Regions from separate parts of the Homo sapiens genome. Here regions 2, 3, 4, 5, 6 and 7 are each linked to region 1. The links are contacts of gene promoters, found by promoter capture Hi-C in blood cells and fetal thymus (Javierre and others, 2016). All regions are on one chromosome and are shown on one strand. The core of a region is centred on a gene start or on the middle of the fragment in contact, and the rest is flanking DNA. Distances in the headings are between cores, read along the strand shown.

Region 1 (3,244 bases), core at 245-2,744:
CCTGAGTAGCTGGGATTACAGGCATGTACCACCATGCCCGGCTAATTTTATATTTTTAGTAGAGACCGGTTTTCTCCATGTTGTTCATGCTGGTCTCGAACTCCTGACCTCAGGTGATCCGCCTGCCTTGGCCTCCCAAAGTACAGGGATTACAGGCGTGAGCCACCGCGCCCGGCCTAGTTTAACTTTTTAAAGTGCATTTTCTTGTTGTCACTGCCATAGTATTTAAATCTTTTCCTTTGCTGGAACACAAAGACCTTCAGTAATTTTCTTTTCACCACAATTTCTCATCCAGTAACTAAGCCCCTTCTTGCCCTCTCCTTAGGCCCAGCACTGACGGGGCAATGACACCGTTGTTCTCACCGGGGGCCATGATGAAGTGAAAAGAGAATGGGCCTAGCAGACATGAGACTGAATCGAGCCTTTGCCAGTTCACTAACTGTCAATCAGAAAATGTGCAAATGTACTTCACTCTAGTTTTCTCATCTGTACATTGAGGCAATGAGTAACCACCTCATAGGTGGTAAGGGTTAGATAGGAAAGAACACAGTAGAATGCCTAGCACACCTAAGTACTCAATCAATGTTAGTTCTGGACCTTTCATTTGAATACTGCTTGAGCTCTGTGCCCAATCTCCCTTTCCTGGATCAAATAAGATTTTTCTTTGTTAGTGATTTCTTTCTAGATACTTCCTTGGCCAGAACTATAGATCCTCTGTCTTTCACTAACTCTTGTTGATCTATGGTTCTCATTCAAGTTTGTGTAGAACATCCAGAGATTTCAGAGGCATTGTTTACTCCTGATGAACAGGGAACATTGCGTGTCCAGGAACCAGCACACTGCCTGAGTTATGGGGGATATTCAGGAAGCATGCTGAACCAATGAATGAATGAACAAATGAATGAATAGCTGATTCTGACTAGTCAACCAAAACTTAATTAGCGCCATTGCTTCCAGATGTTATTGCTTCTCAAGGGAGTATGCAATGTGAAAGAAGAAAGAAAAAAAGGCGCCTCTCAATCGTCAAATATCAGTAGATGCATTGGTTTTATTAACTGATATTTTCTCTTCAAAGGAAAGGCTGATTCAGTCTTGCACAGGCGAAAGATCCAGTGGGTCCCATTGGTTCTCTGTGTCTCCTGCTACACAAATTACTGACGGAAAGATTTGAGCCTTCATTGTGACCACATCCACAGAGACCATAGTCCAGAGAGAGCAATTGGGGCCTGAATCAACTGCTGGTGTTTGTTGAGCAGAAACAGTGAGTCTCTGACTTCCCACCAACAGCTAACCTGATATGGAAGAGCCAAGAGGCATCTCAGATTTGTCAACATTGCTTTAATGAGCTGAGGAACTTCTCATGGTAAACTCAGCAGCTGAGTAACAGGATGATGGCACCACAACAGGTAGATAATCAAGGCAGGAGGTCAAAGCACTGGAGCCAACACCCGCCCAGGATGGGGTATAAAAGGGTTGGGAGGAGAGGAGGCTTCAGTCTCAGTGGCTCAGCCTTCCCAGCTGATCTGAAGCTCCTGTGCAGCCTCAGCCCTACACCATGACCTCCTTCTACAGCACCTCCTCATGCCCTCTGGGTTGCACCATGGCTCCTGGAGCAAGAAATGTCTTTGTCTCTCCTATCGATGTTGGGTGCCAGCCTGTGGCAGAGGCCAATGCTGCCTCCATGTGCCTCTTGGCCAACGTGGCACACGCCAACAGAGTCCGTGTGGGGTCGACTCCCCTGGGCCGCCCCAGCCTCTGTCTGCCCCCAACCAGTCACACTGCTTGTCCCTTGCCAGGGACCTGTCACATTCCCGGCAACATCGGAATCTGTGGGGCCTACGGCAAAAACACCCTGAATGGCCATGAGAAGGAGACCATGAAGTTCCTGAATGACCGCCTGGCCAACTACCTGGAGAAGGTGCGCCAGCTGGAGCAGGAGAATGCAGAGCTGGAGACCACACTCCTCGAGAGGAGCAAGTGCCACGAGTCCACCGTGTGCCCCGACTACCAGTCCTACTTCCGTACAATCGAGGAGCTCCAGCAGAAGGTGAGGTGTGGGATCGCCTGGGCATGCTGGGTCTGAGAAGGCAGAAGCCTTCGCAGGAGGAATCTGCATAAGGTCCAGAGAGCTTTGGGTTCTTGGTTTCTCTTGGACATGAGCGTAAATACCACACATGGAGTGGGAGCTTAGAGTATGGTGCTTTGTGTGTGAACCGTCTTTCCGTTTTCCTCAGATCCTGTGCAGCAAGGCTGAGAATGCCAGGCTGATTGTACAAATTGACAACGCGAAGCTGGCTGCTGATGACTTTAGGATCAAGTAAGTCAGGATGAGGAGGGTCAGTGTGACTTCTCTCCTGCTGTATTTCCAAGGGCCCGCCCCATTACTCAGTCTATATTGTAGGTGTTCAAAAACAGTTTTTGACTAGAAGAATATTTCTCTCCACACCTTAAATTAGCCTGTTGCTAGAAATGGTCATTATATAGGAGGAAAGAGAATATAAGCATTGAAAGAAAAAGAAGGGCTGTAGTCTAGATTGGTTAGAACCTATGTCACTTTCTCCCATATCTAGAAGATAAGAGGATTTTGCTTTTCAATCAGAAGTAAAATTGAGTCATCACAAAAATAAACTGTCAATGCATAGGTTGTTGCTAGACTCTCTGACTCTTGGCCAAATCCATCAGCTGGAGGAATTGTCATTGAAGCTCCTTGGTAGCTAGAGTTGTGCTTGAATGAAGGGGAAAAGCAAGAAAACAACGAGAAATAATGAATCCAAGAGGAAAAGCAGCAAACTGAAGGTCCAGAGGCTTATTTTTAGCCATTCTTTTTCCTGGCCAAATGACTCCTATTATGGCAGAATAAATGCTGCATTTGAAGTCAGAACACTTAGGATGAGTCCATGCATTTACTATTAACTGGGCATGGAATTCTGAACAACTCGTGTTTTGTTTCTGAGCCTCAGTCTTCCATCTGGTCAATGGGCATAATGTCCTGACTACAAACCGTGTCGCTGCAGGGTTGAGAATAGTGTATACTGCCCACGTGAACAAATAAGGATCCAAGGTGGTGTGGGAGGTAGGAAGCCAGGGCAGCTGAGAGGGGCTATTGGGGCATTCTTTTTGACCCTGTGCCTCCTGTGACGGAAGGCTGGAGAGTGAGCGCTCCCTTCACCAGCTGGTGGAGGCGGACAAGTGCGGGACGCAGAAGCTCCTGGATGACGCGACCCTGGCCAAGGCCGACCTGGAG
Region 2 (3,208 bases), core at 613-3,112, 650 kb after region 1:
AATTAGCAAATACAGTCAAGATACTGGAAAAAGAAAATCGTTTTGACTTTGAATCTTCTATCATAAGTCAAAATATCAAAAACCACTCATATGTGGAGGCTAAAAAAGTTGATCTCAGAAGTAGAGAGTGGGATAAGTGCTTACTAGAGCCTGGGAAGGGGATGGGGGGATAGGAAGAGGTTGGTTAAAGGATACAAAATTACAGAGAAATAGGGAGAATCAGTTCAAGTGTTCTATAGTACTGTAGAATGACTACAGTTAAGAATAATTTATTCTATAATTTCTAATAGTTCAAGGAGAGGATTTTGAATGTTCCCAACACACACAAAAAAGATAAATGTTTGGGACCATGGATATGCTAACTGCCCTGATTCTATCACTACACATTGTGTGTTTTGAAATATAATTATGGAACCCCATAAATATATACAATTCTTATGTGTCCATTTAAAAAAAAAGAAAAAAAATCCTACTGCTTAAAGAGAGCAAAAATACATTTGCACCACTCCTAGCTTCATCTAGCATTCCTTTTGGCCACTCAATTAAGAGCACTTACAAGTTCCTTTGTAAGTGGCATAGACAGAGGAAAAGTCGAGGCATGAAGGCTGACTATAAAACTAAACATGTGTAATGATAATCATAACTGCTTTCATTAAGGGTTTGCCCAGCACTTCCGCCCACATGTGAGTCCACAACAACCCCGGGGCATGGGCAGGGCAGACGTTATAACTCATGTCATTATTTCCAAAAGAGGACTCTGAGATTCGAAGAAGTTAAGCAATTCCCACAGTCCCACAGTTGGGTATGAAGGAATCCAGAAGTTCTCTCCAAATTTTCTAACTCCCAAGTCTATACTTTTCCCACTATGGCTAGTAAACCACCAGAGTTTATCCACAGATGAGGCTATGAATGTATATAAAATCAAGACTTTATATAAAAAATACTTGCAGGTGAAAGGATAAGACACTCTCATCTTCATTCCATGTAAAATTGCAGTGAGTGTTCCCTCTGAGTATATCTGTAAACCCATTCAGATTCACAAGCCAATGAATTGAACTACTGTATTTAAAGTCTAAGAAGGTAATTATTTTCTGTGGTTTATTCTACTCATGGAACGTTTATGCGGTTTACTGCAGGATGACTTTTTAATAGAAGAGCTACAATCCTCATAAGACAAGACTGTCACATGGCTAGAAATGAGTAGCAAAGTATAGGCGGACTTCTAGTTGTGGGTAAAGTAGCAAATTGTGCCACACTCTACAAGCACAGGCTATATTGGTGCAGGGGAGGGATCTTTCAGTCTGTGCCCTATGAAGAGACAATTTCATCTTTTTTAGCACACCTGGGCATCTGAGGGACATTCAGCACCAGCTGTGTCATTCTCAAATAGAAAAGTAGTAGGACATTTAATAAAGGCAACAATTAATATTGAAGAAGTGGAATCTTTTGGGTAAATATAATTATTTGCATGATGTAAGGATAATTCTCTTAATTATCTCTTAAATGCTTTGGCTTATTCTAAAACACCGTGACCTTTTCTATTAAACCATGTCTTACCAAACTACAGAAACACTCCCTGGAGTGCTCCTTGACAGAGACCGAGAGTAACTACTGTGCACAGCTGGCACAGATCCAGGCTCAGATCGGGGCCCTGGAGGAGCAGCTGCACCAGGTCAGAACCGAGACCGAGGGCCAGAAGCTCGAGTATGAGCAGCTCCTTGACATCAAGGTCCACCTGGAAAAAGAAATTGAGACCTACTGCCTCCTGATAGATGGAGAAGATGGGTCAGTATTGCCGCCATTGAGAAAACAATTCATTTTTAAGGTTACTAAAGATGATTTGAAATCAAGTACAAAATATCTATGATCTAGATCACGCATAGATAATACTCTTTTAGTGTTATTTCAGAATGCAGTGAATTCCCACCTTAAATCATTATTTTTCAGTTTCCTCAGTAAAACAGAATAATTAATATAAGCGCTCTATACTTTTACAGCTCCTGTTCTAAATCAAAAGGCTATGGAGGCCCAGGAAATCAAACAAAAGGTAAACAAAAGCTGTGTTAGGCATTCAGTGTTTATTTGTATGTGTTTCAAATGATGTTTTATTTCCTATTTATGAATTTGATAAATTCTAAACAGTTTATATGTGGCATTTTAGATTCATCTAAAACCACCATTGTCAAAACAGTTGTTGAAGAGATAGATCCTCGTGGCAAAGTTCTCTCATCCAGAGTTCACACTGTGGAAGAGAAATCCACCAAAGTCAACAACAAGAATGAACAGAGGGTGTCTTCCTGAACTCCAGCCTCTGAGACAGAATGGCCCCCAAATTAAAATACCAAAATGAAGCTAGTTTCCTAAATAAGGGTCCCCTTATTTTTCTGCTTTTCTTCCAATGAATTAAGACAAGTTATTTTTAGAATAGTACCATTTCTTTGGCTTTTTCTCTATGGTGGTGTTTCAATAAAAGTTCTTCCTGTTGCAAGTCATCTTCCCTGGTTCTGGCCAATCTTTGCATTTTAGATATACCCTCCCAAATGGAAGCTGAATTTTGTCTTTAATTTCTTCTGTTTAATTCAACAGTCTTCACAAGTTGGAAGTAAGTTTAATGTGAAAACTAGTTGGAGTCTTTTTGACTTCTCTGTAAAATTTTGTCTCCTTTGTCTCAGTACGAAAAGTACTTACTGAGAACACGCTATGTGCCAGATAACGAGGATAAAACAGTTAATAAGATCCAGTCCCTGAAGTCAATATGCTCATAGATGTAGAAATAAGAACCTGAAGAATCAGAAACAAACTTAAACATAAAGGAAAGGCTATAAGTAGTGATATTTGAAGGTAGAAGGGGAAAAAGAGAGCTGTGAGGACAAGGGTAAGAGGAGAATTCCAGCAGGCATCTAATTCATAATCTTGATCACTCCACCATAACGGTAGGAATTCACAAGTTCTCTCCTTCGTTTTTGCCATCCAAGACTGCAGAGCCATGTGGCTCTCAAGTCAAAGGTAACTTTTAGTGCAATAATTTCAGCACCTACCATTAATGAATCTATTTCAAGGCTGGGAGTGGGAGGAGGTTAAACTCAGCAGAAAACCCTCCAGAGGTTTATTTGTGGGTGAGAGATTTGGCTCCCCCTCACCAATCCCGTAACAGAAACAGCCTGTTTTTCTCTGGAACCAGTGTCCTATTACTGAACTCTGTAGAATT
Region 3 (3,706 bases), core at 597-3,096, 730 kb after region 1:
TTTCTGCATCTTCTTATTTCCTCATTAGAATGCTCTTGAAATAGCTGAATTAACAACTTTGCTTTAATTGTTTCTATGCTTCAATAAATTTACTTTTGCAAGTTAATTATTACTTATTTTTTTAAAAAGTATTTTACCTAGGAAGGAAGCTATCAAGTATGATCTAGCTGCATGACTATATTACTAATGTCAGTTCATTCTTTATATCTTACTGTTGTAACTGAGCGAGTTATAGAGAAATGACACACTCTGAGACTAATTCAGGAGTCCTTTTATTGCCGGCGAACAAGACGGCTAGAGCTCAAAATTCTCTCGGCCCCGAAGAAGGGGCTAGATTTCTTTTTATATCGTGGTCTAAATAGGGGAGAGGGAGTTTAGCTGAAGCAATTTTTACAGAAGCAGAACAGGCAAACCAATTAAGAAAGATTAATTGGTTACAGAAACAGTTACAGAAAAGTAAACAGTTCCAGGTGCAGGGGCTCAAACTATCACAAAGAGATAATGCAGGGGCTTTGGGTGCCATCCCCCAAGCGCGTCCTCAGGAACTGCTGATTTAGCTTGCCTCGATATCTCATCAGTAAGCGCATTCCTGGATGTGCTCGGAGTCAGCTTGCACTACTTATGCCTTTAAGGGAGGGGAGCTGCAAGTGAAGAAACAAAAATGGAGTCTGTCCGGCTCTCTCAGCTAAGAGAGACAATCAGGTTAAAACGAGGTAGGGTATCACATTACCTTCTTTATACAATTCAGATTATAGTCATTTTTTTAATGTGGGCATTTTTAATGGCATCACATAAGAACTCAGTGGCATGATAGCTGAAATTAGACTACCGTGTCAACGGCTTAGCCCACAAAGAAGGATGTGATTATTTTAATAATCAACTTATAATTAATGTCTAGTTTATATATGTCCATCACTGAACTCGATATTTTATAAGATAAAAAAGAAACTCAAAATCTCCCTCCTACTTCAAAAAGCTCACATTTCAGCAGAGAAGAAGAGCTAAAACACAAAGAAGACAGCAAGCAATAAAAAGCTGTTAATAGTAAAGACTTGATTTCACAATCTGCATCAGAAGTGACATAGGAATCAGACATGTGTGTTTACAGGACATTTAGGACAGGGGCCAAAAAAGAGTCTTGGGAAATAAGATTGGCTATGTGATATGGCAATCTGATTTCCTGAAACCTTGAAAGCCCCAAAGAGAAGAGATCCTCAGGCACTTGTTCCCCTGCCAAATCTAGCCACATCTTTAGCCAAAACCTGCCACTTCGCCAAGCTGGTGTTTCTTTTCCCCAGTCTCCACTGCTAAGATCTTTCATCCCGTTGGTGGTCATAGCCCTATTCTTTCATTTCTACAGTATCCCTGAGGCCACATGGCTTTGTCTTGTCTTGTTTGGGATGATGAAACCTGTTAAGATTGGGTAGGAGGTGGTACGGGCCCCAGGAAGAACCAGGCATAGCACCAACCCAGGCTGGCTAAGGGCTTTCTCAATCAAGGAATTTAATATGCCCATATCACAAATTAGAGAATCAACTCTACAAGCCAGTCCTCAAGGAAAGAACACGGGACGTGGCATAAAAAGCCAAATGTAAAGTTATAAAAGGACAAATCTGAACATGTATCTTCCAATATAAAACCAATTAAGAATTGTGTGAGCATATCAAACCTATCATCAAAACATGTAGTTTTTCATCTTCTGGGCACATTGAATAAAACTTAAAATGAACCTCTGGGTACATTATGACTTCTGCTTAAATAGCTAACCACAGAATAAGGTTAATAGCTAACCACAGAATAAACATTAAACCACTACTCAAAGAAAAAGAGCAATGTTAAGTTGCTTAAGTCAAAGCTGTTTTCCACCATCAAATCATTACAATAAATAAAACCCTGAATGCTTCTTCTCTGCTGAAATACTAAAAGTCTGAACCAGCTCATCCAACTGGATTCATAGCTCAAGAGCAGAAATGGAAATCTGCCGTAAGCAGCCTGCAGAACCTAAGCCATCCCGGCCACATCAGCGAAGCCTCTCTCTGTGGGTCTTCTCAAGTCTAACCTTCTAGCTGTGGATTTTGGCCACCTGAGACCTATGTTCATGGCTAGTACTATTTTCATGTCAAGGCAAAAGTATAAGGCTACTCTGAAAGTCATCTCGAGGTGAAAACCCTCATCTGTTCTTCCTTGTCATGCGTTAAGATGCTGCGTTTGTACTGAATGATTGTTTACAAATATAGAAAAGGCCCAATCATAGACACCAGAACACTGAGACACAATAGAATGTGTTGTTAAGGGCATGTTCAATTTTGAAAACTGAAACTATTCAACCATTTTGGATCATAAAACGTATTTACAGTGCTGAATAAAAAGTTAAGGACATGGTGTTCATACATTATTACTTGCCTTAAAATTATTTTAAAACTCTACAATAGGAATATGTTTATTGTGAGACCCTAAAGTTCAGCTCTCCAGGCAATTTTTTTGCTTTGTTTTGTTACAGGGTCTCGCTCTGTTGCCCAGGCTGGAGTGTAGTGGTGCCATCTCGATTCACCTGCAGCCTCAACTTCCTGGGCTCAAGCAATCCTCCCACCTCAGCCTCCTGAGTAGCTGCAGGCAACCATGCCCAGCTAATTTTGTTTATTTTTTGTAGAGATGGAGTTTCACTATGTTGCCCAGGCTGGTCTCAAACTCCTGGGCTCAAGCAATCCTCCCACCTCGGCCTTCCAAAGGGCTGGGGTTATAGGCATGAACGACTGCATTCAGCCTCAACTTTTGAATGAGAGGAACACATTTCTTTTTTCTAAGAGTGGATTTACTGTAAGAAGGGAGAGCTCATGCCCACATGCACATGGGCTTTCTTTTTTGTTTGTTTGTTTTTTTTGAGACAGAGTCTCTCGCTTGTCGCCCAGGCTGGAGTGCAGCGGCGCGATCTCGCCTCCACCTCCCAGGTTCAAGCGATTCTCCTGCCTCAGCCTCCTGAGTAGCTGGGATTACAGGCACGCGCCACCAAGCCCAGCTAATTTTTGTATTTTTAGTAGAGACGGGGTTTCACCATGTTGGCCAGGCTGGTCTCGAACTCCTGACCTTGGGATCCGCCCACCTCGGCCTCCCAAAGTGCTGGGATTACAGGCGTGAGCCACCGCACCCAGCCTCGCACATGGGTTTTCACCCGTTGACTTTTAATCCAGAGATTCACAGGGTTGTTTTTTCTTTCTCACCTCAGGGAAGTATACACAAGAATGATGAGAATGGTCGACGTGGCATCCATCCTCACAGAGATGACAAACAAGAAACAAGGTTCACAGCAGGCAGCTCAGAGTAAACGGCTAAAGTATTTGAAGCTCTAAGGAAAGTGGCCTAAACTGGCTTGACGACTTCGTGGAATTAGACAGTGTTCACCCAGGAGGAGACAAACTGGTGAATATAAATCACCCAAAATGAAGCTCAAGTAATATTATCCACACAACCTCCTCAAGGAACAAAATACTACAAGTAATAAACCACTTTAAAAACTTTTCAGTGGCTGAGATATGACACTTGGGTAACAGAAAATATTGATCAAGCCCTTCTGAAAACAAAGTACTCATTTGTAATATCAATGTCAATATGAAATGATAATGCAGGAAAGAAGCAAATGTTAATAGTTCAACCACTTTTTTAAAAGTTAGCACTTAAATAGCAGGTAAGGGACAAGCCCAGAGGTATC
Region 4 (3,730 bases), core at 553-3,052, 630 kb after region 1:
TATTATACCTTTGCCTGCAAATACTTAGCAGAGAGAGTGGAGGAGAGCAGGAAAAAACAGATGCATAGACACTCAAAAGAGAGCTTTTTCTTCCTCCTTGACATCACTGGGAGTTTCCTTCCTGGCTGATGCTTAGTGCTCATTTCATGAAAATAGACATTTCACATAGATCCTTTCTCAGGGTAATTCAGCTTAGGTCCGCAAAACAAACAGCAGCAATATTGCTGCACCAGAAAATTAGCCACAGGTCTATGATCAGGGGTGTGGGGCTAGTGTCCCACAGGGCAGGGAGCCAGCATCACACCAGCATCTCCTGATACTGATGAAGACATATTAGAAGCCACATGTGGTTTCACCAGGCAGAGGAAGAGAGGGTACACACCTGAATGCCACATGGGCACTGTCAGGCTCTTCATCGCCACAGAGTCCAGGGCAGAGGTCAAATCCCGGAGGGCACACCTGGGAGCCAGGCCTTCAGCCACTTGGGCATACCACCAGCTCCTGGCTTACTTCAAAGGTCAGCATGGCGTCAACCCAGGATTAAAAATGGCTTCCCTTCTAGAGTGTGAGCTGGCAGTGCCCAAAAGGCTTGACTTTGAGAATTACGGCATGCACATGGCCTAAGGACTCCCTTCCCCATAAGAGGTTTCGTGCCTCCTGAGGACACCAGGTTGTAACACAAAGAAGAGAGCAGCTGTTACCCAAGTGAGTGCAGTGAGCCAAAAAGGAAAAGATGACTCAAAACAACGGGAGATTCTTTTGATTTAGCCGCCCTCTAAAGGTGTGTGCTTTCTCCCTATATCGGATTTAGATGGGAGACTTGTTTTTACACTGACTGGCCCCTAACTTAACCAGGATGGCCCTCTTCTCCTCTCCCTCATCACTGCTGCTAGCAGGTACCCGAGACACCCCTGCCACTGTGGGCTCCTGGAACCTTCCTTTCTTCTCCATTTCCCTTCTTCCCTGAACTAGATCCCTGAGGACTCTGTTCCTGCTGCAGGAGCTGTGTGAGTGAATCCTCCCTCTATTTCTGAGCTACGCTGATGGAAATACATTTTCGAGTCCCCAGACCAGAATTGTGAGCATTTTCACATAGAAACAAGGATGTTATAAAGTAGTTAGAGTCTGTGCAGCCAGTGGTACTATAATTTGGGCTCATAGGATAATCCACACATAAAAAGCCCACTTAACACAGGACATAACTGAATTCTAGAATAATGGGAGCATAGTACCTAACTTACATCCCTGAGGCCCTGTTGTCTTATGAATTCTAAGCTCAATCTCCTAGAGTTAGAACACAAGTCATTTGTAAGTTGGGAGTTGTCTAAATACACAAATGTTCACGTTTGCTTCCTGTGATGTACAAACTTTCAAGTTCATCCTGTTCTCCTCCCTCTTTGACAAGCCAGCCTTCACGGTGGAAGACTGTGAAGTAGAGACGCTGTCCTCTCTGACTTATGAGTGTATTAGCAATCATAAAAAGGAATACCCTAGGAGGACGCATTACCAGGGAAATTAAAGTTTTGAGCTGCCGAGCACACGCCTCACTGGCGTCTTGCTACCTGTTGCCTTACTCTCCGCATTACCATCCTGATCTCCTTCCACTTACCTGCTCCTGGAGAGCCCAGCACCCTCCATGTAACACGTCTGTTTGCCTAAGTCAGTAGCTCTAAGTCAGTGTTAGGTTCTCAGCCCCATTAGACCCAATGTCTGCCCGTTAAGACAAATATTGTGTAATTCCTTCTTTGCAATGCTAGAATGAAGTCACTAGGTAATAGATTTAGAAATATACAAAATTATTTTTTAAAGTATAATACCATAAATGCAATAAAAAGGCAAGTATTTTAAGATAAAATGTATTTACTAGGTAAATACTTGGGCCTAACTACCCTAGAAAATGTAATGAAAGAGGCAGAGCCTTGCATCTTCTCTTAATAAATCTTTCATTTTCAACCATGTAAGATCAGAAGTTCCTCCACACAAGAAAAGGAAAATGAAAGAGTGGAAGTTGGGGTGGACACTTGGATAATAACTAATATCAACAGAAGTAATAATTGCCCAGACATATTTATCTATAATAAGGGAAAGAGGAAAATTACCTTAATTAAAGGAGGCAGCAGGTGCCAAGACAAATTACAGACTGTAGAAGTAGCAAAGAGGAAGTATGATATTCATAAGAGTAGTGTCGAAATAATGACCTGTATTGTGTTATGAGATATAGCTCTTGCCTTGAAATCTCACATCTGTTAAGGCACTCATTCAATCTCAGGTACCTTAATAAAAGACCTTTGATAGAGGCTAGAAAATCAAGGATGGATTAGAGAAAAAAAAAGCAGTAGCACAAAAGGCCATGGAACACTAGCGGAGTGGATCTGCGGGGACAGTAGCAGAGTAAGATGGAAACAACAGGTAACCCTGAAATAAATATATAATTTCAAAATACAAGTTTTCCCATATCGATTTTTTATTCTGCTACCCTTAAAAGGTGCTTTAATATATCAGTTGGTTTTAATAGAAATATGACCTATATATCATCAATGTCCAGTGGAACATCAAAAGTCTTGTGGGAAAAGGGCCATTTATCCCGGGTCAGGATCCCACGTCCATCATGCCTGGCCCTCACTTCATAAATGCCAGCCTCCTTTCTTTCCCATTTGATTGTGACAAGCCTCACAAATTTCCACAATTGCCCAGGGAGCAATCCTGCTGATTACTGAGAAACAATGTTCTACTAGTCCTCAGAGTGTTTTCATCCCTTGCCACGGCTTCTTTGATGTCCTCAGAAACACTCCCTGGAGTGCTCCTTGACAGAGACCGAGAGCAACTACTGTACGCAGCTGGCGCAGATCCAGGCTCAGATCGGGGCCCTGGAGGAGCAGCTGCACCAGGTCAGAACCGAGACCGAGGGCCAGAAGCTGGAGTATGAGCATCTCCTCGATGTCAAGGTCCACTTGGAAAAAGAAATTGAGACCTACTGCCGCCTGATAGATGGAGATGGAAAGTAAGTAAAGCCATTTGAAAATCCAGTTTTTACCTCTTTTAAGCTACAAATGTGGGCTGCCCATTAGCCTTCCATACTTCCAAGCCTTTTCTTTTTCATTCCCACTGCAGAAAAGCATGTCCATCTCTTGTTTTTTTGGAAGAGAGTCATCTCTTCCAAATCCTGTTCATCACAGTGTTCTCCTCTGCATTAGATGACTGGAAATGTTCCTGCAGCCATTCCCATCTGTTGTCCATGTTAATCACTGTGGGTTTCAAGATTCTCTCCACCTCCCACAAGCAGGCTTTATCCTTCTTTCAGTGCATACCTAATTTCACTGCTGCCCTGAAATAAATGTACTCTGTACAAACCACCTGGATCCATATATATATGTATGTCCTTAAGTTTTAAATTCTTGGGTGTAAAAAAAAAAATCAAATGGAAACAAGATTTATTTATATTCTCTCTTTAGATAACATTTAATTACTTTCAGCTCCTACACATAAAAATCTTAAGAGTTTCCTCTATAGAAAACTAAGACCTGTTTTTGGCATACAAATTTCATTCATTGAGTCAATGAATATTTCTGAAGCGATAGTAAGCAGAAATATAAAAGAATAAACTATATTTCTTTTACAGTTCATGCTCCAAATCAAAGGGCTTTGGATCAGGAAGCCCTGGGAATTCATCTAAAGGTAATAAAATCTAGTTCTATTTCTTTTCTTTTCTTTTCTTTTTTTAAATTTTTTT
Region 5 (3,734 bases), core at 666-3,165, 610 kb after region 1:
TTATTATTATACTTTAAGTTCTAGGGTACATGTGCAGAATGTGCAGGTTTGTTACGTAGTTATACGTGTGCCATGTTGGTTGGCTGCGCCCATTAACTCGTCATTTACATTAGGTATTTCCCCTAATTCTATCCCTCCCCCAGCCCTCTACCCCACAACAGGTGTGTGATGTTCCCCACCCTGTGTCCATGTGTTCTCATTGTTCAACTCCCACCTATGAGTGAGAACATGTGGTATTTGGTTTTATGTCCTCGTGATAGTTTGCTCAGAATGATGGTTTCCAGCTTCATCCATATCCCTGAAAAGGACATGAACTCATCCTTTTTTATGGCTGCATAGTATTCCCTGGTGTATATGTGCCACAGTTTCTTAATCCAGTCTATCATTGCTGGACATTTAGGTTGGTTCCAAGACTTTGCTATTGTGAATAGTGCCACAATAAACATACGTGTGCATATGTCTTTATAGTAGCATCATTTATAATCCTTTGGATGTATACCCAGTAAAGGGATCGCTGGGTCAAATGGTATTTCTAGTTCTAGATCCTTGAGGAATTGCCACACTGTCTTCCACAATGGTTGAACTAATTTACACTCCCACCAACAGTGTAAAAGCGTTCCTATTTCTCCACATCCTCTCCAGCATTTGTTGTTTCCTGACTTTTTAATGACCGCCATTCTAACTGGTGTGAGATGGTATCTCATTGTGGTTTTGATTTGCATTTCTCTGATGACCAGTGATGTTGAGCATTTTTTCATATGTCTGTTGGCTGCATAAACGTCTTCTTTTGAGAAGTCTGTTCATTTCCTTTGTCCACTTTTTGATGGGGTTGTTTTTTTCTTGTAAATTTGTTTAAGTTCTTTGTAGATTCTGGATATTAGCCCTTTGTCAGATGGGTAGATTGCAAAAATTTTCTCCCTTTCTGTAGGTTGCCTGTTCACCATGATGATAGTTTCTTTTGCTGTGCAGAAGCTCTTTAGTTTAATTAGATCCCATTTGTCAATTTTGGCTTTTGTTGCCATTGCTTTTGGTTTTTCAGTCATGAAGTCTTTGCCCATGCCTGTGTCCTGAATGGTATTGCCTAGGTTTTCCACTTTTTCTTTTTTTCACAGCACTGTTTCCAACTTACTATACAATGTATTCATTATTAGTCATCCTTTTCCCCTGCTAGACGGTACACTCCAGAAAGACAACGCTTGATCTTCGTCTACTTTATCCATTCATGTATCCTGAGGCACTAGAACAGTGACTAACACAGGTTAGGTACCAAAAATATCGTTTTTGAAGGAATGAACTCTATGACATATATACTATTATTATCTCCATTTTACAGATGAAGAAACTGAAGCACAATTTAATTCATCACTGGAACTAAGAGTGTAGGAAATGATTATATATAAATGGACATTAGTGTATGATAAAGGAAGAATCTAAACCCTAAGAAAGTAAGGTTTATTCAGTAAATGATAAACTATTAAACCCATAACAAACATACTAGAAATAATCCAAATGAGTGTCTTAAACATCCATATAAGTAGTAAAAAAAAAGCAGAAAAAAATGTGTAATCACATTTTTTAAATTTTGAAATAATTATAGACTCGTTGGAAATTGCAAAAATAGTAGAGTCCAGTGTACTCCTGACTCACCTTCCCCAAATAGAGACATCTTCTATAGGCTAGGGTATAATATCTAAAATTTAAAAATTGGCATTGGTACATCACTGTTTAACTACAGAGCTTACTCAGTTTTTGTTTTTCCTAACCTGCATGTGTATTCACAAAATACAAATCTTATAAAGGACTGGCATATAGAATATAAATATAAAAAACTATAACTCAATAACAAGAAAAAACCACAAACCAAAAAAAAATTGTGTGTCTGTGCAATTGTACCCCATGTATAGGTACAATTTTTGTACCACCACCCAAATCAAGATACAGAACCATTTCATAACCACAAAAGAACTCCTTCATGCTACCTTTTTGTATTCACATGTGTACCTCAACACTCCCTTCCCAGTTCCTGGCCCCTGGCAACTACTAATCTCCATCTCTATAGTTTTACCATTTAGAGAATGCTATATAAGTGTAATCACACAGTATGTAACCTTTTGAGACTGAACATTTGTGTACACGTTTTGGTGTGAACATACATTTTCATTTCTCTGGGTTATATGTCCAAGCATATAATTGCTAGGTCATATGGTAGGTGCATGTTCAGTTTTGTAAGAAACCGCCAAACTGTTGTCCAGAGAAGCTGTACCATTTTATATTGCCACCAGCAATAAATGGGAGAGCAAATTTTTCTGCATCCTCATCAGTATTTGGCATTATCAGTATTTTTCTAATAGGTATGTACTTATAGCTCACTGAAGTTTAATTTGCATTTCCCTAATGGAAAATATGCTGAATAGCTTTTCTTTTTATTTTCTTTTTTTTCTCTCTCTTTTTTCTTGTTTTGAGACAGAGACTTTCTCTGGCGCCCAGGCTGGAGTGCAGTGGAGCAATCTCAGCTCACCGCAACCTCTGCCTCCCAAGTTCAAGTGATTTTCCTACCTCAGCCTCCTGAGTAGCTGGGATTACAGGCATGCGCCACCATGCCCAGCTAATTTTTGTATTTTTAGTAGAGATGAGGTCTCACCATGTCAGCCAGGCTGGTCTCAAACTCCTGACCTCAGGTGATCCACCCACTTCAGCCTCCCAAAGTGTTGGGATTACAGGCGTGAGCCACTGTGTCTGGCCTGAACAGCTTTTCATGTGGCTATTTGCCATCCGTATCTCCTCTTTGGTGAAACATCTGCTCATGTATTTTGATCATTATATAGCCCATTTGTATTTCATTGTGTTCTTTTCACTTAGGATTACTTTGGCTATTCATGATCTTCATCGGTCCCATATGAATGTTAGAATAGTTTCTTCTAGTTCTGTGAAAAATTACATTGGTGATTTGATAGGAATAGCATTGAACCTGTAGTTCGTTTTGGGCAGTATGGTCATTTTAACAATATTGACCCAATATCATTATTCACCCAATCCATGAGCATATGATGTTTTTCCATTTGTTTGTGTCATCTATTGAAAGTCACCGTCAAAATAATTTTAAAAAGCCAAAGACTGGGAGAAAATAGTCACAAAAATACAAATCTTATAAAGGACTGGCATATAGAATATAAATATAAAAAACTACAACTCAATAACAAGAAAAAAACCACAAACCAATTAAAAAATGGACAAAAGATTTGAACTGATACTTTATCAAAGAAGAGATACAAATGGCAAATAAGCACACAAAGAAGATGCTTGACATCATTAGACATTAGGGAAATACAAATTCTAAACATACCACTATACAACTATTAGAATGACTCAAAAAAAATTTTTTGATGGACAATACCAAGTGCAAGTAGGGATTCTGAGCAACTGGAACCCTCATATATTGCTAGTGGGAATGCAAAATTATAGTTTGGCAGTTTGTCATCGTGTTAAACATAGACTTAACATACAATCTAGCAATCTCACTCATAGACATTTATCCAACTGAAATAAAAATATCTACATAAAGACCTATGAGGAAAATTTAGAGCAGCTTTATTCATAATCATGAAATCTGAAAATAGCCCAAATGCCCATAAACTAGTGAATGGAAAAAAATATGGTACACCCATATATGAAATGCTACAAAAGAAACAGACCACATTACATCTTGAAATTCAAAAGCATTATGCTAAGTGAAA
Region 6 (3,278 bases), core at 654-3,153, 660 kb after region 1:
AGTACATCAGAAGACAGGCCCACCAACCTCTGTCTCAGCTATGCATCCTAAAAATATCCTCTAACTCATCCCCTGCCCCTGTCAGCTACAGCATGAGATTAGTCCTGCTTCCACAGGGACCCAGAGGGAGACATGTCCATCTGAGTCTTCAGGGCAGGCTTGCCAATCTTGGTCCCACAACAGATCCCTAAATAGCTCTAAATTTCAACCCCAGCCCCTCTCAGCTGCAGACTAAGCACTTCTGCCTCGTCAGGGATCTGCTGGGAGACACACCATTCTGTGTCCCCAGGGCAGGCTTGCCAATCTCAATTTTACAGCATCCCTAAAACAAACCTGAATCTGGGCCCTAGCCCTTCTCAGCTGTGGTCAGAGAGAAGTTCTAACTGCCCAGGAATCCAGAGGGAGGCACTCTCATCTGAGCTCCACAGGCAGCCCAGCTGACCTGGGTCCCACAGAAGATCCTGAAATGGCCCTGAAAAGCAGTCCCAGCCCCTCTCAGCTGAGGCTTGAGAGTAGTGCTGCGCACACAAGACCTGGAGACAGACATGCTCATCAGTGCTCCTATAGCCTGACCCACTGATCTTGGTCCTGCTGTGGATCTTGAAATGGCCCTGTAATTCAGCACCAGCCTCTATCAACTGTGGTCTGAGAGCAAGCCTGCCTGCCCGGGGACCCACCAGAAAACATACCCTTCTGTGACCCCAAAGACAGGTCTGAAGAGCTCAGTCTCAGTTACAGGCTCTAAAGCAGCCCCAAAACTCAGTTCTAACTTGTCTCAGCCATGGACTTGAGCAGCACTACATACCCAGGGTCTCACTTAGTGATCCACTGGGAGACTTTCCAGAGACACAGAAGAAGCCACACCCACTCACACACCTGGTAATGGCCCATCATCTACAGATCTTGAAATGGACTCTCATCCCAGTGCCAGCTCTATGGACCAAGGTTCTACAGACAGTCCAGTCAACCCAGAGACTACACAGAATCCACAGCTACTACAGCCCCTGGTAACAGACCTATCAACTATAGACCCCACTGTGGACTCAGCAATAGCCATGTGATCCAGCTCCAACCTCATTTGACCACAATCCCATCACCACAGGAACCTAATAGAAGAAGGCCTTAAACTGCCAAAAGCAGTCTATAAAGATTTAAAGAGGGCCAGGTGTGGTGGCTTTCACCTGTAATCCCAGCACTTTGGGAGGCTGAGGCGGGTGGATGGCTTGAGCTCAGGAGTTCAAGACCAGCCTGGGCAATATGGCAAAACCCCATCTCCACAAAACATATAAAAATTAGCTGAGTATGGTGGCATATGCCTGTCATTCCAGTTACTCAGGAGGCTGAGGTGGAAGGATCACTTGAGCCTGGGAGCCAGAGATTGCAGTGAGCTGAGATCACGCCACTGCACTCCAGCCTGGGTGACAGAGTAAGATCCTGTCTCAAAAAAAAAAAATGAAGGAGGTATTTGTGCCTTCAAATGCACAGATACCAATGCAAGACTACATGAATAATGAAGAATAAGGCAAGCATGACACCACCAAAGGAAACTAATAAGGCTCCAGTAACTGACCCCAAAGAAAGGGAGATCTACAAATTGCCTGAAAGAAAATTCAAAATAATCATCTTAAAGAAGCTCAATAAGATGCAAAAAGACATAGATAAATAACTAAATGAAATTAGGAAAACAATGCATAAACAAGATGAGAAGCTTAATTTTTAAAATAGAAACCATAAAAATAAAACCAGAAATCCTAGACCTGAAGAATACAATGACAAAACTGAAAAATTCAATAGAAAGCTTCAACAGCAGACTCTATCATGCAGAAGAAAGAATTAGCAAACTCAAAGAAAGGGCATTTTAAATTACTGAATTAGAGGAACAAAAATGTTTAAATAATAAAAAAGAGTAAAGAAGGCATACAGGATCTAGTCTATCCCACCAAGCATACAAATATATACATTATGAGGATTTCAGAAGGAGGAAAGAGAGAAAAGGAAAGAAAGCTTATGTAAAGAAATACATCCCAAATCTTGAGAGGGATATGGACATACAGATTCACGAAATTCAAAGGATCCCAAGCAAGATCAACCCAAAGACAAACACTCTGAGGCACATTAATGCATGTGGGGCTTAAAACCTAGATGGCAGGTTGATAGGTGCAGCAAACCACCATGGCACATATATACCTATGTAACAAACCTGCACATTCTGCACATGTATCCCAGAACTTAAAGTAAAATTTTTTAAAAATTGCCAAAAGACAGAGAGAATCTTGAAAGCAGCAAAAGATAAGAGACTGATTACATACAAGGGAACCCCCATGAGGCTATCAACAGACTTCTCAACAGAAACCTTGCAAGTCAGGACAGTAGGATAATATATTCAAAGTGCTGAAAGAAAAAAACCTGCCAACCAAGAATATCATACCCAGAAAAGTCTGGGCTTCATAAATTAAGGAGATATCCCCAAACAAAAGCTGAGGGAGTTCATTGCCTCCCTTACAAGAAATGATAAAGATAGGTCAATTAGTTGAAACAAAGGAACTCTAATTAGCAACATGAAAACATATGAAAGTTAAAAAAACTCACTGTTAAAGGTAAATATACAAATTCAGAATATACTACTGTAATGGTGGTGTACACATCACTTATATCTGGTATAAAGGTTAAAAGACCAAACTATTAAAACTAATTATAAGTACAATAATTTGTTAAGGAATACACAATATAAAGAGATATAAATTGTGACATCAAAAAAATAGATGGAGGGGTAGTAAAACTGTAAAGTTTTTGAATGCAGTTGAAGTTATCAGCCTAAAATAACCTGTTCTAACATGTTCAGTGTAAGTCTCATGATAACCACAAAGCAAAATTCTATAGTAGATACACAAAAGAGAAAGAGAAAGGAATCAAAGCATGCCACTAGAGAAAGTTGTCAAATCACAAAGGCAGACAGCAAGAAAGGAAAAAAGAAACAAAGGATCTACGAAACAACTGGAAAACAACAAAATGGCAGTAGTAAGTCCTTACCTATCAATAATTACCTTGAATATAAATGGATTACATTCTCCAATCAAATGACACAGAATAGCTAAGGGTACTAAAAAGGCAAACACACACACACACATACACAAAATCTGTATGCTGTCTACAAGAGACTCACTTCAGCTTTAAGGACACACATAGACTAAAAGTGAAGGGATGGAAAAAGATATTCCATGCAAATAGAAACAAAAAAGAGCAAAGGTAGCTATATTTATATCAGAGAAAAGTAGACT
Region 7 (3,344 bases), core at 360-2,859, 580 kb after region 1:
TACAGGAGAGTGGCAGCAAGAATGACTTGTGTTTGTTCTCTCTAAGCTCCACATTTCCTAAAACTATTTTTCTATTTGTAATCATCAGCTTTTTAGTGAATACGGTGAGTAAATTATTCTACCAACTAACTGTTAAAAGTAATACTTACTGCCATTTTTCCTAACACCACTCATGGAGGGTACAGGAATATATCATGAAGCAAATGAAAAGCTGCCCACAAGACTAGATTGATTATCAAAAGGGTTTTTTAAAATACAAATTTAATATAAATTTGAATTACTTCAAAAAACTTACCACAGTCCAGAATCTGTTCCTCATAGCCCTGCAGGTCCAGAAACTAGACTTCACCATGCCCAGAGGTAACCTGACACTTGATGATAGACTTACAGTGACTGTATTCACACAATGCTGATGTGCACATTAGAATGCCAGTTTACTGGCAATGAAGGACATATCTTTCCAGCTGTCTAAGGCCAACTTCCTGAGCACTCACTTTCCTGCACATTCGCCACAATGATGCTTCTAAAATGCAGAATTTTTTCAGTCATTTTTAATTATACCACATGCCTGTTCTTTATGCTAAGTTCCCTATGATACAGTTTAAATGGCTCATTCAACAGATGGTTTCCTATATTACTGATGTGAGCTCTTGAACTGTGTCTTGAACCACTCTTATTTCTGATTTCTCTCTCCTTCCAGGTACCTACCTGTGCTATCTGGCTTATTGGCTCCCTGAGTGTTCTCTTTCTCTCTCTTTTTTTTTTTTTTTTTTTTTTTTGAGATGGAGTTTTGTTCTTGTTGCCCAGGCTGGAGTGCAATGGCATGATCTTGGCTCACTGCAACCTCCACCTCCCGGGTTCAAGCGATTCTCCTGCCTCAGCCTCCCAAGTAGCTGGGATTACAGGCATGTGCCACCACGCCCAGCTAATTTTGTATTTTTACAAGAGACAGGGTTTCTCCATGTTGGCCAGGCTGGTCTTGAACTCCCAACCCCAAGTGATCCGCCCACCTCGGCCTCCCAAAGTGTTGGAATTACAGGCATGAGCCACCGCGCCTGGCCCTCTTTTTCTTTATTTCCCAGAGGAAACATTTCTGAAATACCTCTAAAGAGCTATAAAATTCTACTTGCTTCTGTTTCCCAGTATGTTCTGCACCCAACCATCTTGTCTTCATTCCACCCTTGCTTAGCTCCACACCATTCTTTTTTCTTTTATACTCACTGTGTGTGCTGCAGCAGTGCAAGACACAGATGGCTTCATTCCATCACCACCCTTTCCTTCCCTAATGGCAGACAGTCTGGCTTCTGTGCCCCTACATTGTCCAGTATATTCTTGCACCCAGATCTCCAAGGATCTTGTGGCACTATCATGCACATTAATTTCTAGTCCTCATTCTTCCTGGTCTCTATGCAGAATTTGAAACTCAAGACCCGGAAGAACCTCCTTCTGGAAACTCTACCAGGTGAATCATAATATGCTACAATCCATCCTTGGTTGCCTGAATTTTTTTCCAGACTTCCAGATCACTCCTTATTCACTTCCTTCACTGGGTACTTTTCCTCTGTGCCAAGCCTAACTGAGGGTTTCCTCACCATTCAGCCTTAAACTTCTGCTCTCCCCTTTATAAAATCCAGTTATTCTAAAGGCTTCAACTACCACCTCAATATAGGTAATTTCTGGCCTTCAGCTCTTTCCTAAATTATTTCAATTTCAGTGATCCTTTAATTTGCAAAATTGGTCATATTAAATGATGCTTAAACTATAAAGACTGAGAATGTGTATTAACTGTAATTGGTAGCTTTGAGAGAATTCATTCCCTGTTCTCAAAAGACAACAGTACTTCTAGGATCTTTTCAGAACAAACAGCTAGATTGTAAAGTAATGTTGCAGTTCTAGTCATACTTGACATCTTTAACACTGTTGGCCATCCCATCTTCTCAAAATTCTCCTCTCCACTGGCTCTCTTGAAACTTCTGTCCCCTGGTTCTCCCTTTTATCTTTCAATGTTATCTCTCAAGCCTTTTATATTCTCATTAAATATTGCAGCTCCTCAAGGTTTTATCCATGGTCCTCATCTCTACTCATTCTCCCTGAGAAATCTCATGTAGTTCATGGTTTCTCTTTGCCAGTAACTTCCAAATCACAATTTCTCTCCTAATCTCAGACCCACACTGCAGCTGCCTATGGAATATCTACATCTGAATGTTGATAGGTACCTCAGGCTCAATCTTCCTTTCCCTAAATTTGTTATCTTTCCTACAAAAACTGCTCCCCCTTTGCATTCACATATCAGTCAATAGCATTCCCCGAAGTTCAAAACTAGAAACGTCTTGTCATCTTAGATGCCCTCCATCATCAACGGGCAAACAGCCAAGTCAAATGCCACCTTATCTATGACTATCTTCCCATTCTTATCACTGCACTGACACTTTTGTGAAATTTTCATTGTTTCTTCCCCTCCCCAGACTCTTGCAAATTCTCCCATCTCATCTCCCTTTGTCCAGTTTCCCCCCAATCCATCTAGTACACTGTCAACAAAGTTATCTTTCAAAAAATTAAGGTCATGTTCCTCCCCTATTTAGCAGCTTTCAACGGTCCACTCCATGACTAAGGGATCAAGTCCAAATTCCTTAAAATGGCATTACAGGTCTTTTCTTATGTAGCACAAACCTATTTTCCAGACTTATTTGTTGGCACTCACTCACATAAACTTTATGTCCCAGCTAAACCAAACTTTTCTCAGTTCTTGAAATACGTCGTGTGTGTTTATGTCTCCTTTATACTTGCTGGTCCCTCAGCCTAGATTTTTTTTTTCCCATACAATGAATTCTAAGTCATTCTTTAAGACATCATTCAAAAGACATCTCATTAAGTCCTCCAGAAACTGGTTTCTTTTTACTGGTGCTTCATATACTTTAGATAAATCTGTATTTCCAAACTCTTCATCCTATTTTGTAATTATTTGTGCCTTGTCTCCTACCCTTTGACCCAAAAGATATGACTTCCTTGAAGGTAAAGACCACATCTTACTTATCCTTGCATCCTCAGAACCCCAGTAAAATATATGGCATATGATATATATTCAGTGAACTGTACAAAAGATAGGACAATCAGAGCCAAGATACTGTCCCTTCCCTCCAGAAGGTGAGGAAAAGAGGCCTAGAGACAACAAAGTGCTTTTCCTGCTACAGTTAATTTTAAAGTCAAGTTGTATTAATTGGAAAAATACAGAAAAATATTTTCTTCAAAATTTTTACCACCACGGTGCCTGAAATTCCACTTAGATAAAAGGTGTTTTTTGTTTTTGGTGTGTGTGTGTGTGTGTGTGTGTGTGCACATGTGTG

Evidence for each region. Contacts are between HindIII fragments. The CHiCAGO score rates a contact against its expected background, and 5 or more counts as called.
Region 2: a fragment that was not itself captured here is called in contact with the fragment with the promoter of KRT37 in region 1 in 3 of 17 cell types (M2 macrophages, monocytes and M1 macrophages); the score reaches 6.9 in M2 macrophages.
Region 3: a contact is called between a fragment that was not itself captured here and the fragment with the promoter of KRT37 in region 1, in 3 of 17 cell types (erythroblasts, M1 macrophages and M2 macrophages). The highest score is 5.7, in erythroblasts.
Region 4: a fragment that was not itself captured here is called in contact with the fragment with the promoter of KRT37 in region 1 in 1 of 17 cell types (M2 macrophages); the score reaches 6.6 in M2 macrophages.
Region 5: a contact is called between a fragment that was not itself captured here and the fragment with the promoter of KRT37 in region 1, in 2 of 17 cell types (M2 macrophages and M1 macrophages). The highest score is 6.4, in M2 macrophages.
Region 6: a contact is called between a fragment that was not itself captured here and the fragment with the promoter of KRT37 in region 1, in 2 of 17 cell types (erythroblasts and M0 macrophages). The highest score is 6.7, in erythroblasts.
Region 7: a fragment that was not itself captured here is called in contact with the fragment with the promoter of KRT37 in region 1 in 2 of 17 cell types (neutrophils and monocytes); the score reaches 5.9 in neutrophils.

What each region holds. Positions count from the first base shown.
Region 1 is chr17:41,422,835-41,426,078 of GRCh38, reverse strand. KRT37 (keratin 37) reads left to right here and starts at 1,494. Exons shown (of 7, transcript NM_003770.5): 1 at 1,494-2,047; 2 at 2,235-2,317; 3 at 3,145-3,244. The coding sequence starts at 1,556. The HindIII fragment of the contact is 11,234 bases long and covers 1-3,244 here.
Region 2 is chr17:40,776,092-40,779,299 of GRCh38, reverse strand. It overlaps KRT27 (keratin 27), which reads left to right. Exons shown (of 8, transcript NM_181537.4): 6 at 1,568-1,785; 7 at 1,998-2,047; 8 at 2,162-2,492. The coding sequence ends at 2,301. Among named protein-coding and RNA genes, the nearest start is that of KRT27, 4.9 kb to the left of the region's middle. The HindIII fragment of the contact is 6,200 bases long and covers 1-3,208 here.
Region 3 is chr17:40,694,391-40,698,096 of GRCh38, reverse strand. LOC105371775 (a long non-coding RNA gene) reads right to left here. Exons shown (of 4, transcript XR_934751.2): 4 at 257-641. KRT24 (keratin 24) reads left to right here. Exons shown (of 8, transcript NM_019016.3): 8 at 1-106. Among named protein-coding and RNA genes, the nearest start is that of KRT24, 7.5 kb to the left of the region's middle. The HindIII fragment of the contact is 3,749 bases long and covers 1-3,706 here.
Region 4 is chr17:40,793,100-40,796,829 of GRCh38, reverse strand. KRT28 (keratin 28) reads left to right here. Exons shown (of 8, transcript NM_181535.3): 6 at 2,784-3,001; 7 at 3,620-3,675. Among named protein-coding and RNA genes, the nearest start is that of KRT28, 5.0 kb to the left of the region's middle. The HindIII fragment of the contact is 6,389 bases long and covers 1-3,730 here.
Region 5 is chr17:40,811,451-40,815,184 of GRCh38, reverse strand. It overlaps LOC105371776 (a long non-coding RNA gene), which reads right to left. Exons shown (of 4, transcript XR_934753.2): 4 at 1,057-1,237. Among named protein-coding and RNA genes, the nearest start is that of KRT10-AS1, 5.8 kb to the left of the region's middle. The HindIII fragment of the contact is 4,415 bases long and covers 1-3,734 here.
Region 6 is chr17:40,759,337-40,762,614 of GRCh38, reverse strand. No RefSeq gene overlaps it. Among named protein-coding and RNA genes, the nearest start is that of KRT25, 5.6 kb to the right of the region's middle. The HindIII fragment of the contact is 206 bases long and covers 1,801-2,006 here.
Region 7 is chr17:40,844,001-40,847,344 of GRCh38, reverse strand. No RefSeq gene overlaps it. Among named protein-coding and RNA genes, the nearest start is that of KRT12, 22 kb to the left of the region's middle. The HindIII fragment of the contact is 5,334 bases long and covers 1-3,344 here.